2 separate regions of the Homo sapiens genome follow, and region 1 is linked to region 2. The links are contacts of gene promoters, found by promoter capture Hi-C in blood cells and fetal thymus (Javierre and others, 2016). All regions are on one chromosome and are shown on one strand. Each heading gives the region's core, a stretch centred on a gene start or on the middle of the fragment in contact. The rest is flanking DNA. Distances are from core to core; before and after follow the strand shown. Region 1 holds the start of S100A9 (S100 calcium binding protein A9). Region 2 holds the start of RAB13 (RAB13, member RAS oncogene family).

Evidence for each region. The method cuts DNA at HindIII sites, captures the fragments that hold promoters and counts their contacts. A CHiCAGO score of 5 or more calls a contact.
Region 1: a fragment that was not itself captured here is called in contact with the fragment with the promoter of RAB13 in region 2 in 1 of 17 cell types (erythroblasts); the score reaches 5.9 in erythroblasts.

Annotation. Positions count from the first base shown.
Region 1 is chr1:153,351,487-153,358,229 of GRCh38, reverse strand. It overlaps S100A9 (S100 calcium binding protein A9), which reads right to left and starts at 376. Exons shown (of 3, transcript NM_002965.4): 1 at 349-376. RefSeq lists silencers at 4,430-4,479, 5,505-5,554. The HindIII fragment of the contact is 417 bases long and covers 4,924-5,340 here.
Region 2 is chr1:153,982,129-153,988,547 of GRCh38, reverse strand. RAB13 (RAB13, member RAS oncogene family) reads left to right here and starts at 2,209. Exons shown (of 8, transcript NM_002870.5): 1 at 2,209-2,435; 2 at 3,767-3,827; 3 at 4,967-5,027; 4 at 5,252-5,329; 5 at 5,740-5,829; 6 at 5,948-6,013; 7 at 6,104-6,157; 8 at 6,372-6,419. The coding sequence starts at 2,312. RefSeq lists a silencer at 2,125-2,294 and enhancers at 2,106-2,607, 2,921-3,150. The HindIII fragment of the contact is 17,219 bases long and covers 1-4,232 here.

The DNA.
Region 1 (6,743 bases), core at 3,883-6,382, 630 kb after region 2:
AAATGCTGTCAAGCTTCTTTGACACTTCCTACTAAGCACTCACAGAAATAGTGGGGGAAGTGCAAAATAAAAAGAAAGCACAGGCTGCAACTTAACTGGGAGATGGCCTGTCACACACATGTACAAAATGATTTTTTAGAATATCTACAGAGTGCCAAAAAGCAAAGCATTTGAGGGCAGGAGGCCCCAGGGGAACATGACCTAAGAAAATGTGAAAGAAGCTTTAAAGTAGGCAGGGCCAACCAAGGAGGGCTTCTAGGAGGAGGATTTGGAAGGAAGTTGGGTCAGGGAAGGAAAGAAGGAATCGGCAGGCAGGCTTCTGCCTGGGGAAGCTGGCAGCTCACTTACCAAAGCCGAGGAGCCACACAGAGTGTTTGCCAGAGCTGTGCAGGCTCGGCATTTATAGGCAGCTCCTGACTGGGGCACTTGGCCCTTTGGCCCTGTCTCCGGAAGATTGCTTCACAGGTGAGCAGTGTGGTAATGCTGCCAGGAAGGGGGCTGGGGCGGGGCAGGAAATGTTCACAGAGCGCCTTCTGCTTTTTTGTGAAATTCCCAGCCCTGGCCTGAAACTGGTTTGGGAGGAAGCTGGTTGTTTAGTTCATTTCCCTTCTATCCTAAGGCCCTACTCTCCCCGAGCGAGCCTGCTGCTCCTCTGGCACCACTCAGCCCCCCATCCCCTTTGAGGTTGAAGCAGGCTGAGGACCTATGGGGGCCTGACCCTCTCGGCTGCCCCCCATGGGCAGTCTGCCCCTTCCTTTTAGTCCAACAAGGATGGTCTGAGCTCTCACCCATGCTTGCCTGGCTCTGTGATACTTAGGATGGCGAGGGGTTGGTGTTCTTAGATTCATAGGGTGAGATTTGGGGTTAGAAGGGTTCTCAGAGGTGGGCAACCCTCTTGCATTGTAGATGAAGAAACTGACACCCGGAGATGGACCTGAGCAAGGTCACATAGCTGGTTGCTGACTTGGCAGGAAGGGGACCCAGCTATTCTGGTTCCTGGTTAAGGGCAATTCTGATGATACCTTCCTCTTGCAGTCTGAGTGAGAGAGCCTCAGGGCGAATATGTTTCTAGCATCTCTCAGCATCATTTTTCTAAATCCTGCTCCCAGCAAGGGTTCCAGGAACTTATAACTTGGGAGACAACTGTTTTTACTTAGCCTCCTGGTGGGCAAGATGTGTCCTTCTCCTGCTACGAACCTCCAGTTGCTCCCCATTGCCTATGGAGAAAGCTTGGCTTAGCCCTGCGCACAAAGCCCTCTTGGAATGGCCCTGCCTGTCCGGCCAGCTTCCCTTTCACTACCTCCCTGCCCACTGTGGGAACACAGGGCCCACCTCCCACCTTGCCACCCCAGGAGTGCCCTTCCCCTACTCCACAGTGATATCCTGCCCGCCCCCACGGCTCAGTTCTAATGCACTCTCTTCCAAGGAGACTGCTCTGTGCTTCCCATTTGGAAACAGTTTCTGTCTTCCTGACTATGATTCTCATACCACTTCTGGCTCTCAACACTTGCTTTCCTGGAGTAAAATTATATACATATTTTGCCTCTGTCCAACAATTGGCTGTAGATCCTCAAAGGTAGGTTCTCATTCATGTTCTCCTTCTCCTATGCACACAGCCCGGGGCTTGGCAAGAGAGACACCCTCGGATTTGCTGATTGATCCTTGCTGAAGTCCTTGCTGGCATCCTTTCCCGTCACCCCTGGAAGCCAGTATGGATGATCCACCCTGGGACTCCCTCTTGCTTGCTGCCCCCTCTCTCTATCAGGAAAGATGGTTCTCTTCTTCTACCTGCACTGGTTATTTTGTTCTGTCTCCATGAAGCCTTCCTTTATTGCCCCAGCCCCTCCTGACTGCTTTGTCCTCTGAAAGCCTGAGGCAATCTCTGTGTGTGCTAAGCATTGGCCCTAAGCATGGCCTGCCTCACACTGCTGAGATGCACCTGGAGTAGTGGTTAAGACTTCAGACTGTCTGTGTGACCTTAGGCAGTTTACTTAACTTCTCTGTGCCTTACTTTTCTTATCAATAAAATAGGATAATATCAGGACTTACCTTGAGGATTGCGACAATACATGGAAAGTTGGGAAGAGCTCAGTAAATAAAAGGTATTATTACTAATAATCTTTTCATTCATTTATGCAACAAATATTTGTTGAGCACCTACTGAGTGCCAGATATGAATGCTAGATGCTGGGAGAACTTGATGAGTGAGTCGCAATACAAAGGGGAGACATAATCTTATATCCTGTCTTCCAAATTACGTTTTAAACTCTTGGTAGCTAAGGACAGGGCTTGGCACAGTGCTAAGCACACAGCAAGCATCTAATAAATAAATGAGTGCTTGAATACATGAGTCGCCTACGAATGAATGAACGGTGCAGACACAGCTCAGGAATACATGAGGTAGATTTCCTATCCAAGTCCACCTTCCATTGTTTAAGCTAATAGAGGAAACCCAGCCAGCAGCCAGCAGCCAGCAGCCAGCAGCCAACCCTGTGTGCCAGTGCAGCCTGTTCTGCAGTCCCTGCACAGCCCCAGGCGCCCTTCCTGTGTGCTCCCATGGCGCCCTCTGCTGCCTCTGACAAAGCACTTCTCACTCAGGACCAAGGATCTCCAACTCACCCTTGCGGGAACCAGACCCAAGGTGAAGCTGGTGGGGCATGAGAACATCAACGGCAGCAGTAGGGCAACTTGTGGCCACTGATATGGGGCCTCAGGGTTGGGGACACTGGACAGTGGTGGCAACTGTGGGGAATGAGAACGTTCCTACCTTGAAGGGACAGCCAGTGTCAGGCCAGGGCTGCCACGTGGGAAAGTAGACCAGATGTTCTTGGACCTCCTGAGGGCCCAGGACATCTGAAGCTTTATATGAAAATTCCTGTTTAATACAATTTGTCCATTAATTTAAAATAAAAACAAAAAAAGCATGACAATGAAGCAGGGTGTGTGTGACTCAAACCCTGAGTGATGGTGTGCGGCAGGCATCTCTGCTTTGTCATGGAGCTCTCAACTTTCAGGTGGACTTTCTGATTCCTCCACACCACTGTGGCTCCTCTAGGCAGGGATGCTGCCTGCTACCCTCCAAAGTCTTAGCACCAGGCAAGGGCTGGCTCAGAGGCACTGGATGAACGCTTGTTGATTGAATAAATTCAGGAGTGCATGAATCAATGATGAAATGAGTGAATGTGACATAAACACTGGCCTGTCACCCTCTGTTCTGTGACTTTCTGCAGAGCCACTGACTGTGGTCATTTAGTGCTGATTCAGAATGAAAGTAAAATAGGGAGTTGGGGGAGAGAAGGCTCAGCAGTGGGTGGGAATGAGCAGCTGGTCAGGGTTTCAAAACAGACGGGAATCTGCACTTGGGGGATCTGATGCTGACAGTGGGCCCCCATCTTAGAAGGCCACTGCAGGCCCCCAGGTTCCAGGCTAGCCCAGGCGCAGGTGAGGCCAGGGCTGAGCCATTCTGGTTCTGACCGGAGCAGACAATTCCTGGCATGATCAGTAGGTGGCCGACACCCACCTGCCTCCTCACTGCCAGCCGAGGCCAGAGGTTGGACTGAGGGATGGTGGGATGGGGGTCTTCCCCTCTGGGTACTGATTTTCCAGGGAAAGTCGGAGCCTTCTGCTAGGGCATGAAGTGGGTGGGCCAATTTTCCTGGCTCTGTACAATGACTCGAGGTTTTCACTGGGAGAAAAGGGTGTGGCTTTTTGGGTTAAAAAACAAATAAGTGGCCGGGCACGGTGGCTCACGCCTGTAATCCCAGCACTTTGGGAGCACGAGGCGGGTGGATCACAAGGTCAGGAGTTCGAGACTAGCATGGCCAACATGGTGAAACCTCCATCTTTACTAAAGATACAAAAAATTAGCCGGGTGTGGTGGTGCGCACCTGTAATCCCAGCTACTCAGGAGGCTGAGGTAGGAGAACCGCTTGAACCTGGGAGGCAGAGGTTGCAGTGAGCCAAGATCGCGCCATTGCACTCTGGCCTGGGTGGCAGGGTGAGACTCCATTTCAAACAAACAAACAACCAAGCAAGTAAACAAACAAGCAGGCAGAGGTTCCTGCAGCTACCATCAAATCACTGTGCTCTTTCCCAGATGCCTGGGACCCACTGCGGGTCTGTCTTTCCCTTCTCTGCAGCTCCCACTGTGGTCTTTCAGGGAGCTTTACCCCTCCTGTGTTGTAATGGGGGTGTTACAGCAGGCACACAGTGGGACCCGGACTGAGGGACTGAGCTGGTTTTAGTCCTTAGCTTTCTCAGACTTGCTGGTGGTCTTTAGAAGTGATTTCCATGTTCGGGCCTCCATTTTCTTATCCATTACATGAGGAGATTGGGACAGCTGACCCTTAGGTCATTTCTAGCACAGATTCCAAGTTTTGATGGACTCTTGGTGGGCTTCATGACTACTACTAGCCTCATGGCCCCTGGACACTGTCTCCTGGCTTACTTGCTCCACCTGCAGGTGAAGTCAGGTCCCTCTCCTCACAGGGACTCTGATGCCTGAGGCCCAGCCCCACTCAGGCTGCGCACAGCCTGCTGCCTATTCCTCCACTCCCTGTCTTCCTCCTTGCTGGGAGTCCCAAGTGCTCTTCCTTGGAGATCTCTGGGTACGGGTCTCCTAACCACAAGCGCCCTAACATCCCCCATTTCCCCAGTGCTCATTCTAGACTCTAGTGCATTAGGATGACTTACAGAAGCTATCCACGGGTAGCTTCAGACCATTGTTCTACCACGTTTGGGCTCAGTCCACATCAAGCTTTGACCACCCCTGGCATCCTTGTGGCCTCCCTTGACTGGCCATCCTGAGGTCTCTGAGGCCCTCTGCTGAGAGCAGCCGCACTCCCTGCCCCCATGCTGGGCTGCTCCAGCATCCACAGTGAGGACCCTCCAATGATCTGGCTTCTTAGACATTCAACCTAAGCTTCCCCAAGTCTGGACCTCTCCCCCTGTCTCCACCTTGGCTGCCTCTGCTCATCATCCTCCTAATTTCTCAGACATGCCACCTTCAAAATTGAGAAAGCTGGCATTCCCTTTTGTTGCCTGGCTTCTGTTGCTCCAACCCTTTCTCCTCCCCGATCTCTTGGGAACCTGGCTTTTGCGCTCACTATGTCCCTAGGTTCCAGATCTCTGCAGAAATTTTTGGCGAGTATCTCAGCATCTGGCTTTTGGCATCCTCTGCTCTCAGGACTCCCTTTGAAGTCCACAGCCCTTTGTAAAGAATAAAGGGTTTTCACACTCAGCAGGCATTATAATCACTGGCGTTTGGATCTGTCTCCCTCATTATATTATTAACTACTTGAGAGCAGTGTTCTCAATGTACTCATCCCTGGATGATAAGCTTTGCATATGAGTGACACCTGACAAATGTTTGCAGAATAAAATGAATGACTGGCTTGGTTTGGCCAGAACTTATGCTTAGGAGATGGCTATGCCCTGTAATTATGAAGGCGTTGGTGGATAAAGCTAGTTAGAAAAAAAAAAGACGTGCCACACAGAAGCATGAAGGTAAGGAAGGAAGTGGAAGGGAGTGATGGATAAAAGAGGTTGCTCAGAGACTCCTAGTGAGTGAAAGGTGACTCCGGAGTTATCAGAGGGCGCATGCTGCCACCTTGTGGCCTATCTGCATCAGGACAGCCTGTGGGATTCCTTTGGCCCCAGGTTTTTAATCTTTTTGCTCTCTGGACCCTTTTATATGTATTCATAGAAGTTATTGAGTATCCCAAAGAGCTTTTGTGGATTAGATGTATCAGTATTTACTACATTAAAAGTTTAAAAAATTTAAAATGATTTATTAACTCACTTAAAGTACCATTAATAAACACATTACGTATTACCACGTTTTTAAACAATTAAAAATAATTATATATATATGTCAAAAGCTAGTGAGAAGAGTGTTTTTTTTTCACATTTTTGCAGACCTTTTTACTGTATGGCTTCAAAGAAGACAGCTGGTTTATCACATCTACTTCTGCATACAAGGTATTGCTGTATGTTGCTTTGGTTGAAGATTTGAAGAAAATCCAATCTCCCACAGATAAGTAGTTGCAAAGGGGATGAATACATTAATAGCCTTTAAATATATAATTGTGGATATTCTTCTCTCATATTACATCAAAACCCAACAAGTGATGGTTTCTCAAAGGTTAGTTGCAACGTAAAGTCTGAAACCATATCAATGAATTATTTGTTCTCTGTTACATTAGAATCAATTGGTCCCTCTTAAAATTTAATGGATCTTTTATCCAAACTTTGTGACTTCATATATTGATCATTTGGAAAATATTGGTTGACTGAGTTATGTACGTCTTCTAAATGCTGACATCATTTATTACTCTCTATATATACATATTTATATATATCACACACACATATAAATAAACCACATTTGGCCGGGCGTGGTGGCTCACGCCTGTAATCCCAGCACTTTGGGAGGCTGAGGCGGGCAGATCATGAGGTCAGGAGATCGAGACCATCCTGGCTAACACTATGAAACACCATCTCTACTAAAAATACAAAAAATTAGCCATGTGTGGTAGCACATGCCTGTAGTCTCAGCTACTTGGGACACTGAGGCAGGAGAATCACTTGAACCCGGGAGGCAGAGGTTGCAGCGAGCAGAGATCATGCCACTGAATTCCAGCCTGGGCGACAGAGATAGATTCCGTCTCAAAAACAAACAAAACAAAACAAAACAAAAAAAGCAAAAAAGCCCCACCACATTTGTTAATATCACCACTGATCCT
Region 2 (6,419 bases), core at 960-3,459:
AGGCCAAGGCGGGCAGATCACGAGGTCAGGAGATCAAAACCATCCTGGCTAACACGGTGAAACCCCGTCTCTCCCTAAAATACAAAAAATTAGCCGGGTGGTGGCGGGCGCCTGTAGTCCCAGCTACTCAGGAGGCTGAGGCGGGAGAATGGCGTGAACCCAGGAGGCGGAGCTTGCAGTGAACCGAGATCGCGCCACTGCACCCCAGCCTAGGTCGACAGAGCAAGACTCCGTCTCAAAAAAAAAAAAAAAATAGGGCCAGGCGTGGTGGCTCACGACTGTAATCCCAGCACTTTGGGAGGCCGAGGCGGGCGGATCAGAAGGTCAAGAGATCGAGACCATCTGGCCAACATGGTGAAACCCCATCTCTACTAAAAATACAAAAATTAGCTGGGCGTGGTGTCGGGCACCTGTAATCCCAGAGGATTACAGGTACTCCAGAGGCTGAGGCACAAGAATCGCTTGAATTCGGGAGGCGGAGGTTGCAGTGAGCCGAGATTGCGCCACTGCACTCCAGCCTGGCGACAGAGCAAGACTCTGTCTCAAAAAAATTAATTAATTAATTAAAAAATAAATAAAAAATTTTTTTGAAACAGGATCTTACTCTATCACCGAGGCTGGAGAGCAGTGGCATCATAATCGTGGCTCACTACAGCCTTGGACTCTTGGGCTCAAGTGTTCTGCCCACTTCTGTCCCCCAAGTAGCTGCGGCTGGGACTACAGGCCACACCACCATGTATGGCTAATTTTTTTTTTTTTTTTTTTTTTTTTTTGTCGAAGCAGTCTCACTATGTTGCCCAAGCTGGTCTTGAACTCCTGGGCTTAAGGGATCCTCTCACGTTGGCCTCCCAAAGTGCTGGGATTACAAGTGTGAGCCACCGCAACAGGTCTTAGATAATATTTTCTTTCTTTCGTGTTTCGTATTTTTTTCCACCCCCAGCACACATATAGCAAGAATAATTTTTTTCTAAAGGCAGAGATAAACTTGTTTCTCTTTTACTCTCTTTCTTTCTTTCTTTTTTTTTTTTTTTTGAGACGGAGTCTGGCTCTGTCGCCCAAGCTGGAGTGCAGTGGCGCAATCTCGGCTCACTGCAAGCTCTGCCTCCCGGGTTCACGCCATTCTCCTGCCTCAGCCTCCCAAGTGGCTAGGACTACAGTCGCCTGCCACCACGCCCGGCTAATTTTGTGTGTGTGTGTGTATTTTTAGTAGAGATGGGGTTTCACCATGTTAGCCAGGATGGTCTCGATCTCCTGACCTCGTGATCCGCCCGCCTCGGCCTCCCAAAGTGCTGGGATTACAGGCGTGAGCCACCGCGCCCGGCAAACTTGTTTCTTTATACCCGTGCTGTTCATATTTCAGCTTCCTGGTTACCAAGGCTACACATTCATGGCCTATTGAGTGAGATTTCAGGAGTACTGCACCTTAAGTGGGCCATATTAAAAGATTCACGTAAAGAATGACATTTTTAGTTCAAATCTCTGTTTTCCTAAGCTATTTGGTCAGAGAAATCACACATGGGTCCCCATAAGAGAGATCGTTCCAACTGAAGCCCCAGGATGTGTCTAGGTAGGCTGTGTGTGTTGGGGTGGTGGGGCCGATTCTGTATAACTAATTTACGTTTTCACCCTGTTCCACCAGGGGGCAGACTGACTCAACAAATAACCTACTTCTGCGCATCCCGCTTTTTTCAAAGTGAATTGGGACCCATAGAACTAAGGGCTTGGACAACTAACAGTAAAATTCTAGGACTGCCTTTTACTCAGCCCCAGAAACCGATGATAACTCATCTTCTAGCTTCGTTGAATAGCATCTCCAAAACTCAGCCCCATTTTTTTTTTTCAATTTCTAGTGCTCTCCCTACCTTCACCCTTATTCCCAAAACTCTTGGTTCTCTTCCCCTAATCCCTCTAAAATTTCTCTTCTAAAATTTCTGGTCGTCGTGGTTAAACCTCTACTTCCCTTCACCCCAGCCTCTCTGGCCTCAGAATGGAAGAGTAAGGTCCTAAGAGGGGAGCTACAATTACCGAAAGGCTGTGGAAAATAGCGAGAGAGACAGGCCGGCCTAAGCTAGGAAGGGAAAACCGAGAGAACAGAGGCCGGGCTGGCAGCCTTGGCCTGCTCAAAAGGGTGGGCGGGCAGGGGGTGGAGCCCGGAGGGGTGCCGCCTCTCCTCTTTCCCGGAGCCTGGGCGGAGAGGGAGGAAAACTTCTTCCTGGCCTGGGCTCCGTGCCGCTCTGTTTGCCAACCGTCCAGTCCCGCCTACCAGTGCCGGGCGCTCCCCACCCCTCCCCCGGCTCCCCCGGTGTCCGCCATGGCCAAAGCCTACGACCACCTCTTCAAGTTGCTGCTGATCGGGGACTCGGGGGTGGGCAAGACTTGTCTGATCATTCGCTTTGCAGAGGACAACTTCAACAACACTTACATCTCCACCATCGGTGAGCCCGCTGGCCATGTCCCAGACCCCGACTCTCCTGTGACCTCCTTCTCCGGCTCCCGGATTACTAGTGACCCCACTTTTCAGTCCCCTTAGAGTAAGGCTCCTAAATTCTAGTCCCTCAACCCCTGGCTCTGACCCTTCCCCCGTGCATGTCTCTGTATAGTAACCAAACCTCTCACCTCTCTGAGGCCTTCAGGTAACTCTTCAACTGCTGCCAGCTCCTCATTTTCTTGGTACCATCGCCTTAGTCTCCCCAAATCCACAAGAACTCTTCTCTATTTTTCTCTGTTCCCCTCTTCCCCTACCCCCACCACCTAGAACTCTCTCGATCCTATCTCCATGTTTCCTGTATCCCTGTCCGCCACATCTTTTTCTCCCGATCCGATGCTAGCCTCTTTCTGTCTTGCTGAGCTTCAAACTCTCCCACTGTGTCCCCACCTCACCATCTACTTCCCAGGTTCCCTGCCCCAGTCTCCCTGCACCTCAGCTGAACAAGGGTTTGGGAAGGGTGGAACAAGGTGGCTGGGTGTGCTGGAGGGTGGCCCAAGGACTGTGATCATGAATATGCAGCCAGCTTGGTGAGGAACGTGGAAATGAGGGGACTTTTGGGGTCTCTGAGTCAGCCTGGTGACTCATCCTCCTCCCAGGGGCCCCCAGCAGGCTTGGGGGAGGTGCCCAAGTTTCTACTAAGAAGAACATTGTCTCCCCTCCTCCCTTCTCTTCTTTCTTCATCTCCTCTGGCTTGGGAAATAGACAGGAAGAGTCTCACGACAATTCTGGTTACAAAGGAAAAGGAAAAATGCCCCTCTTTCCTAATTGTCTCAAAAGTAATCCTGTTTAGCCTCAGACTTTCCTAGTGCCAAGTTTGGCCCACTAGTTAATTCACATAGACTGGCTTCAGCTACTTTTTTCCTTACTCTCTACTAGGAGGGTAGGTGGGATACCAAGAGTAGAGGGCTCTAAGAAAACAGAGAAGAGGAATGTGAAAGTAATATCTGGGGGGAGACAGAGACTGAATTCAGAGAGTTGTCAGCTGGTATAACTGAATGGACCCAAGAGGCAGCCTAAGGATTTTAAGCCTCCATGCAGAATTTTCGTCACCTTTTCCCTCCCAAAATCCATAAAATGTACGTAAAAATAGTATTCTTGCTATACAAATACAGCTTTGGGAAAATTCTCCTAGCTTGGCATTTCCAACAAGATTGTTCCCCAAGTGCCTCCCCTGCAGAATTTCTGGTGCCAGCACTGCTCCGTTCCTGTCCCTTCCATCACACAGTTTTACATGTGTGCATGCATGTCTCAACTTCAGTGCATACCTTCCACCCCTAGGAATTGATTTCAAGATCCGCACTGTGGATATAGAGGGGAAGAAGATCAAACTACAAGTCTGGTAAGTCAGTCCTCTGGGATGCCTCGCCAGACTTCCCCATTTACCTCCTACACGTTTTTCCTTCTATTTTGTTTCATTTCTCTTCCTTTCCCCATTGCTCCTTCTAGAAGTGCTAGAAGGAGCACTTCTGGCATTTCTCCGGATGCACTCAGCTGTCCTTCCATCTCTCTTCCTGCTCTCCCAACTAGTTCCAACTCTTTTGTAACTCTTGCCTCCTCTGGCTGCAGAGCATCCTCTTAATTTGACAACAAACAACTGTTCAGTCATAACATGGAAACAGGCTGTGAGCAGTTAAATGGCAAAGGCAGAATTAAGACTTGACTCTAAGTCTAGTGTTTTCTCCAAAATATGGTGAGCCCAGAGAGCCAAATATAGACCCTGAAGGTGTTTAAGTGGTATGAAGCTTAGTGGAGGCATTATGCTATGACATATAAGAGCAGACTGGTGCGCAAATCTGGTTCTTTTAGTTATCTCCTGCCTGACCTTCATTAATTATTCAGCCTATCCAAATCTGTTTCCTCTTTTTTTTTTTTTTTTTTTTTTGAGACAGAGTTTTGCTCTTGTCACCCAGGCTGGAGTGCAATGGCACAATCTAGGCTCACTTTAACCTCCGCCTCCTGGGTTCAAGTGATTCTCCGACCTCAGCCTCCCAAGTAGCTGGGATTACAGGCGCCCGCCACTAGGCCGGGCTAATTTTTGTATTTTTAGTAGAGACGAGGTTTCACCATGTTGGCCAGGCTGGTCTTGAACTCCTGACCTCAGGTGATCCACCCGCCTCAGCCTCCCAAAGTGTTGGGATTATAGACGCAAGCCACGGCACCTGGCGTGTTTCCTCATTTTTAAAATAGAGACAATAATACATGTCTTACAAGGAAAGAGTAAGGATTAGATAAAATGATACATACACAGTGCTTGACACATAGCAAACATTCAATGAATAAGCAAAGACATCTTGTTTCTTGGGCCACTACCATCTCTGGAAATCAGCTCAACTGTCTTTAATCCCGTTCCCCTTTACTGTTTCCTTATTCTGTTGCCCCACCATGTTACAAAAGCTAAATTCTTGTGAGAGAGGAAGAATTATTCCGTTGGAGAATTCTTCCCTCTATTCCATCCCATGAAAACTTCTCCTTCTTTAGGGACACGGCTGGCCAAGAGCGGTTCAAGACAATAACTACTGCCTACTACCGTGGAGCCATGGTATGAAGTGTGGGTCTGAACAAAGGATGAAGGATGAGGCTACAGAATATATTATGAATACAAAGGGTCAGGGGTTGGGGCAGGTAAAAATGGGAGGGGTGCAGTGTGGGTTGCAGAGGGCCCAACATGGCCTAGTGTTTAGACCCATGGATGCGGGGTCACTTACAGGGCAGTGGGAAGCCTCAATGGGAACATGGTCCAAGGTGAATTTTGTCATCTCCCAGGGCATTATCCTAGTATACGACATCACGGATGAGAAATCTTTCGAGAATATTCAGAACTGGATGAAAAGCATCAAGGAGGTGAGGACCCTCCAAAAGAGATGGGGAAACTGGTTAGAACCTGGAGAATGAAGGGGTCCATCAGGATAGGCAAGACCTAACTTTTTTTTTTTTGAGATGAAGTTTTGCTCTTGTTGCCCGGGCTGGAGTGCAATGGCAGGATCTCGGCTCACTGCAACCTCTGCCTCCCAGGTTCAAACGATTTTCCTGCCTCAGCCTCCCAAGTAGCTGGGATTACAGGCATGCACCACCATGCTCGGCTAATTTTGCATTTTTAGTAGAGACGGGTTTTCTCCATGTTGGTCAGGCTGATCTTGAACTCCTGCATCAGGTGATCCACCCGCCTTGGCCTCCCAAAGTGCTGGGATTACAGGCGTGAGCCACCGCTCCCAGCCGGCAGGACCTAACTTTTACTTGTCTTTTGCCCCCAGAATGCCTCGGCTGGGGTGGAGCGCCTCTTGCTGGGGAACAAATGTGACATGGAGGCCAAGAGGAAGGTGCAGAAGGAGCAGGCCGATAAGGTGAGGGCCAGGCTGAGCAATGTTCTAGAACTGGGCTGGGAGGGCCAAGATAGGTTGCATTGCAGAGGACTTGGCTGCTGTCCTTAATTCAATTCTCTTCCCACTTCACCCCTTATAGTTGGCTCGAGAGCATGGAATCCGATTTTTCGAAACTAGTGCTAAATCCAGTATGAATGTGGATGAGGTGAGATCCACACCCCCATCCCCGACCAAGAGAGGAAGTATTAGAAGGTAGATTCTCCTCCCTCCAAACTGACTCTGTTCCCCACTTTAGGCTTTTAGTTCCCTGGCCCGGGACATCTTGCTCAAGTCAGGAGGCCGGAGATCAGTAAGTTGGTTTTGCTGGACTAGGTACAACTCTGGGGTGTGTGTGTGTGTATGTATGTGTGTGTGTGTGTGTGTGTGTGTGTGTGTGTTGGTGTTGATAAAAACGGGGAGCAATGCTAAGATTTCTCATGAGGGTGGATTTACTTTAAACAGTTTATACCCTCCTACCCTAACCATCCATTCACACCATGACACCTGTGCCCTTCTCCCTCTAGGGAAACGGCAACAAGCCTCCCAGTACTGACCTGAAAACTTGTGACAAG